2 separate regions of the Homo sapiens genome follow, and region 1 is linked to region 2. The links are contacts of gene promoters, found by promoter capture Hi-C in human tissues and cell types (Jung and others, 2019). All regions are on one chromosome and are shown on one strand. Each heading gives the region's core, a stretch centred on a gene start or on the middle of the fragment in contact. The rest is flanking DNA. Distances are from core to core; before and after follow the strand shown. Region 1 overlaps RORA (RAR related orphan receptor A). Region 2 holds the start of BNIP2 (BCL2 interacting protein 2).

The links. The method cuts DNA at HindIII sites, captures the fragments that hold promoters and counts their contacts. A contact is called where the count stands out against the background at its distance.
Region 1: a contact is called between a fragment that was not itself captured here and the fragment with the promoter of BNIP2 in region 2, in 1 of the 25 tissues and cell types used here (dorsolateral prefrontal cortex).

The regions. Positions count from the first base shown.
Region 1 is chr15:61,028,132-61,030,831 of GRCh38, reverse strand. All of the region lies in intron 1 of RORA (RAR related orphan receptor A), which reads left to right. The region is part of intron 2 of LOC107984805 (a long non-coding RNA gene); the gene reads left to right. Among named protein-coding and RNA genes, the nearest start is that of RORA, 200 kb to the left of the region's middle. The HindIII fragment of the contact is 6,223 bases long and covers 1-2,700 here.
Region 2 is chr15:59,688,070-59,690,899 of GRCh38, reverse strand. It overlaps BNIP2 (BCL2 interacting protein 2), which reads left to right and starts at 1,580. Exons shown (of 10, transcript NM_004330.4): 1 at 1,580-1,765. RefSeq lists a silencer at 1,303-1,812 and an enhancer at 1,226-1,874. The HindIII fragment of the contact is 13,463 bases long and covers 28-2,830 here.

The DNA of each region.
Region 1 (2,700 bases), core at 126-2,625, 1.3 Mb before region 2:
GGGAAGAGATACTATAAAGTATAGCTTATCTTTTATTAGAAATAAACTTGCTTAGTAAGTTGGATATACACGCAACCTTAAAAATCTGTTTTAGATGCTACATTTTTTTCAGTTCTCGAATGTGCTTAAAAGTCACGGCATTGTTTTGTTCATAATCACCATCCTGTTATGGGCCCCAAATATGCTTGGCAATCTTCTAATTCTCTGATTGACTCATTTTCTCACACAACATGACAACTGTTTTAAATTTCTTCTCAAACTTCCTGTGCTTCAACTCTTCCTTCTCAGGACCTGTGCACCATGGATTATTCCTTCTCTTCTAAAACCCACTCTACCTCTCACATGGGTCATGCCCACTGGCTTACAGAAAAGTAACAAGACTAGTACAGATAAACTTAATTTTCTTCTCAATCATCTGAGAATAAGTTGCCAACCTCATGCCCCAATACCTGGAATACTTTAGTGTGTAATCCCTGTATACAAGGATATTCTCCTGCATATACATAATACAACCATCAATATCAGCAAATTAGCACTGATACATTATAACCTTCAAATCCTTTGACCCCGTTCAAGTTTCACCCATTGTCTCAATCAGGTCCTTTATAGCCAAAGGTACTAGTTCAGAATCACCTATTACATCTAGTTGTCAGGTCTCTTTAGTTTCCTTTAATGTGAACACTTCCTTAGCGTTTCCTTGACTTCCATAACCTTGACACAGATGATGACTCTAGGTCAGTTACTTCATGGAATGACCATCACTTTGGGTTTGTCTTATGATGAGATTCCAATTATGCAGTTTCAGGCTATGAAGTGTCAGGGCTCCTCAGAGCTCAGTCTCAAGCCTTCCTGTCATCTCACTGGGGCAGGATCATGCGTACTTATGCCTCCACTTGTCTCTCTTTAGGTGAGCCACAGATCCCCATCTCAAGCCCAGGCCTCTCCAGTGAGCTCTGGAATCATTGCACCCACTGTCTTCCTCGTGGCCCTTTTTGGATACCAAAGGCTTTGATCTCCATGTCTAAAACCAGACTCATTGTCTCCCTCTGACATCTTGGGCCTCTTACAGTGTCCTGTCTCCCATGGGTGCCACCACTATCCATCTTGTTATAAAACATGAAAACAAGAATTCTTTCCCCTTCTTTACCCTCAGATCCAGTCTGTCACCCTGTCCTGTTGATTTAACATCTTACACATCTTTCTAATCTCTTCACTTCGGCCCATCCATGCTACCTCCACCTTTGCCTTGGACTTTTGCAGCCTCTCAACTGGCCTACACATAAGCTTTCCAACTCCCTCCCGTCTGTACTCCTTACTTTAGCCAGAATGATCTTTTCACAATGTAAATTCCATTGTGTCCTTTCCTCTTCCCTCCACCTCTTTCCTGCTTAAAGCCCTCCAGTGCCACCCATTGCATTTAGGATAAACAGAACATCAACATGGCTGGCAGGGCCCTGTGTGGATTTGCTCCTGCTTCCCTCCTCAGTCTCATCTCAGGCCTGATCCTCCCTGGCCTTTTTTTTCTGTCTTTCCAATGGTGCTCGTCATGTGTCCTCCAACCACACACAGGAGCTTTGCTCCTCAGCTTGTCATTTCCCTAGGCTTGCAGTATTTTCACATAGATTTATTGGGATATAATTCACAGACCATCTGGTTCGGGTTGGTGTTTAGATGTTTTTTTTTTTAATTCACAGACCTCACAATTCACCCATCTAGAGTGTATAATTCAGTGTTTTTAATATATTCACAGAGGTGTGCAACCATCACCACTATCTTACTTCAGACCATCAGTACTATCTTATTTCAGAATATATTCATCACCCCAAAAAGAAACCTGTATCCTCTAGCACTCACTCCCCATCATACCCACTAGCAGTCACTCTTCAGCCACCACCACCCTCACCACCACCATCCCTCCTGTTCTGGACAATTTATGTAAGTAGAATCATACAATACTGTGGCATCTTTCCCTTAACATAATGTTTTTGAGTTTCCTCTGCATTTTAGCGTGAATCAGTACTTCATTTCTTTTTATGATGGAATATATTTCATTGTATGGACAGACTATATTTTATTTGCCCACGCATCAGTTGATAGACATTTGGGCCAGCCTTTAAATATTGAATTCAGCATCACTTCCTCAGTGAACTTTCCTGACCTGCATGACTAGGCCAGATCCTGCTAGATAGGGTTACTGCACTGTGTCTGTCACCTTGCTAGCATTTGTCATGGTTGCAATTCTACTTTTGTTTGCTTGATTCTTGGCCTAATTTAATGCTGGTCTTTTCTAACAGACTGTAAACTAGAGGGGGCAGGTACTGTATCTGCTTTGACTCACCATGATATTCTAACACCTAACAAAGGGCCCCGCACATAGTAGGAGCTCATTAGATACTTGTTGAATGAATGAATCCTAATTTAGTTCATTAAAACCAGATTGTTTCTGGCAGTCTACTTATCTAGACCGTTTGTATGAATTTCCTTGGCATAGTCTCTATTGTGCTGGAGATAGGAAGGGCCCTCCATAAACCACTCAACTCCTCCTCATGCCCCCAGCATGCCTTTACCCGTTTGTGTATTTATTAATAGAATTCAGCATTTATTTTATATATTTATTGGAATTAAGTTGCAAAAATGTAGAAGTAACCATGATGGGCAAAAGCAGAGCAGGTCCTGATGTGAATACATTGTGAGCCAGAA
Region 2 (2,830 bases), core at 331-2,830:
GGGTTTCGCTGTCACCCAGGCTGGAGTGGAGTGGCGCGATCTTGGCTCACTACAACCGCCGCCTGCCAGGCTCCAGAGAGTCTCCCACCTCAGCCTCCCAAGTGGCTGGGACCACAGGTGCATGCCACCAAGCCCACCTAATTTTCTTCTTTTCTTTCTTTCTTCCTTTCTTTCTCTTTGCTTCTTTTTCTTTCTTTCTTTCTCTGTCTCTTTTTTTTTTTTTTTTTTTAAGAGATGGGGTCTCGCCATGTTGCCCTGAGGTCTGGCGATCTACCGACTCGGCCTCTCAAAGTGCTGGGATTACAGTCATGAGCCAGCACGCCCAACTGAGAGAGACTATGATGTTCTCCAAACAAATCTCATTTGGTTGAAACTCTACAGCTGAGTATGGTCTAATTTGAGTAGTTTACCTTGAGTACTCTAACCATGGTCTATAGACCTGGGCTCTTCTGAGAACTGTTTGCAAATGGTTCACAGAGAGAGAGTAGAAAACTCTATGTCAATTTTGCAGGTAATTTTATGGCTGTTAACTCTAACGATAAAAAGTTTTGACTTGGACTTTGTATGTCTTTTCATTTTTCTGTTTTATTAACTTGTCAAAAACTAATTGAAAATTGAAAAAAATAAACCGACCGTTCCCCCAGTGAAGAGAAGCACTGCTGTAAAGCTTTTCACACTCAAATATTACCAAACTCTAAGGTCGCTTCTGAGGCCTAACTCCCCAAAATGATGCCTCGGATATTTTTCCTCGCCTTATTTCTTTTTTTTCTTTTTCTTTTTTTTTTTTTTTCCTTTTTCCTTTTATTTGAGACGGAGTTTTTGCTCTGTTGCCCAAGCTGGAGTGCAATGGCACGATCTCGGCTCACTGCAAACTCCAACTCCGCCTCCGCCTCCGCCCTCGCCTCCTGAGTAGTTGGGATTACAGACGCGCGCCACCACGCCCAGCTAATTTTTGTTTGTTTAGTAGAGACGAGGTGTCACCATGTTGGCCAGGCTGGTCTCGAGCTCTTGACCTCCGGTAATCCACCCGCCTCGCCCTCCCAAAGTGCTGGGATTACAAGCGTAAACCACCGCGCCCGACCTCCTCCCCTTATTTCATCCATTTTATAATTCACATTATTGATCGCTGATAATTGCACCTATTGTAATGATACTGATAATTGCACCTGTTGTAATAATATTGATATTGATAATTGCACCTATTGTATTACAATATTATTATTGATATCGATAATTTCACCTACTGTAATGATCAATAAAGGCAGGCAGAAAGAAAACAAAAGTAACTGAAACTACCAGGCAGCGTCCCTGCGAACAGCAAAGAGGGAAGAAACGCCTTGAGGCGTAGTAACGCCACCAATAAGGAGTCGACGCGACGGGTCCGCCCACAGGCAAGGAAGGCCGACCCCGCGAGTGCAGGCGCGAGCGCTAGCCCGTGACGTCTGAGGGGGTTGGGGGGATGCTGTGTGGGTTTCAAGAAGACGCCACGCCTCCGCCGCCGCCACGCCCCCGCCGCCTCCACCGCCGGCTGCCGCGCCCGGAGGAGGTCGGGATGTTATCACTTCCGCCGGGGCTTCTCACTGTGTCCGGGTCAGCTGCTGCCGCCGACGCCGTACCGCTGCGGCCGGGGGATTGGGCCGGGGTCTCCACCGCCGACCGAGGGGAGCGGGCTCCGCTCGGCCCTGCTTTTTGCGACCTGGCCGTCAGCCCCACGTCGCCGGCCTGGAGGGGCGAAGAGGACGAGGGGGCCAAGGCTTCCTCCGGGGTGAGTGCGGCCTGGGAGAACTCGGCACGGTGGCTCCGGAGCTGGACTGGGAACCGGCCTAGGGGCGAAAGTCTGTCGGGCGCGTGCCCACGACGTCCGGGGAGAGGAAACCCAGAGAGTTACCCTTGGTAGGGGGAGCCATAGAACCTGCTCGGGAGGTGCTTCCTGGATCCCCGCCCTGCTTAGGTCCCCGCCCTTGGCTTGGGTCCTGTTTGTATTTGGCAGTTTGGCCCCCCACCCCGTCGCTTTTCCGTTTCTGGTAGTTGTGCTCGGGATGGAACCTTGCCCCTCCTCCGCTCCCCCACCCTTTTACCCTGGTGTGGGTGAAGTGGCTGGGCTACGATGGTTCAGTATTTATGACCAGCGTCCGTCCTGGTACAGAACAAAGAAACTTGGACTTCTGGTATGCCTCGTAACCGCGGGGAATAGACACGGAAGCAGCATAAGTAATCAGGGCTTTAATAGATCTTCCCTAGTACGCTAAACCAAATACAGAGTGTGTACGTCAAAAGCCGAGTCCCCGCGTGAATCTAGACACAACCCTTTCTGTTTAAATACCTGGCAAAATGGTTTGGATTTCTGGATGCATTTCATGCCGCTGGAGAGTTACTTGTCTGTGTCTTGTGAGCTCTTTGACGAAACAGCTTTTCCGGTGTTGCATCAAGATAGTTACGGTGCCTCCTATTTATTTAATTGAATAAACTATGTGATTGCATTTTAGTGTTGCTTTTTTCATTCTCACCTTCTCTTGATTAGGATCTCTATTTCACCTAATACCTGATTTCGTATTTTCAATTAAATGTAGTTTTTCTAACATTTTATAGGAATCTCTGCAATTGTAGAAACAAATTCTGTAATTTGTAAATGGATGTTTCCTCAAAGTTACAACTGACCTTACCCAATTAAGTTACCCCTGCAGACTAGTTTCTTGATCATTTTGCACATATTCTTAGTTCTTTTTGGTTTACATTTTCTCTAAACTCTATTCCTAGTCTTCATATTCTCTAGTGCAGCCTAATACTGCTGGGCTTAGACCGGAAGTATGACAGATCCACTTCTGCAAAC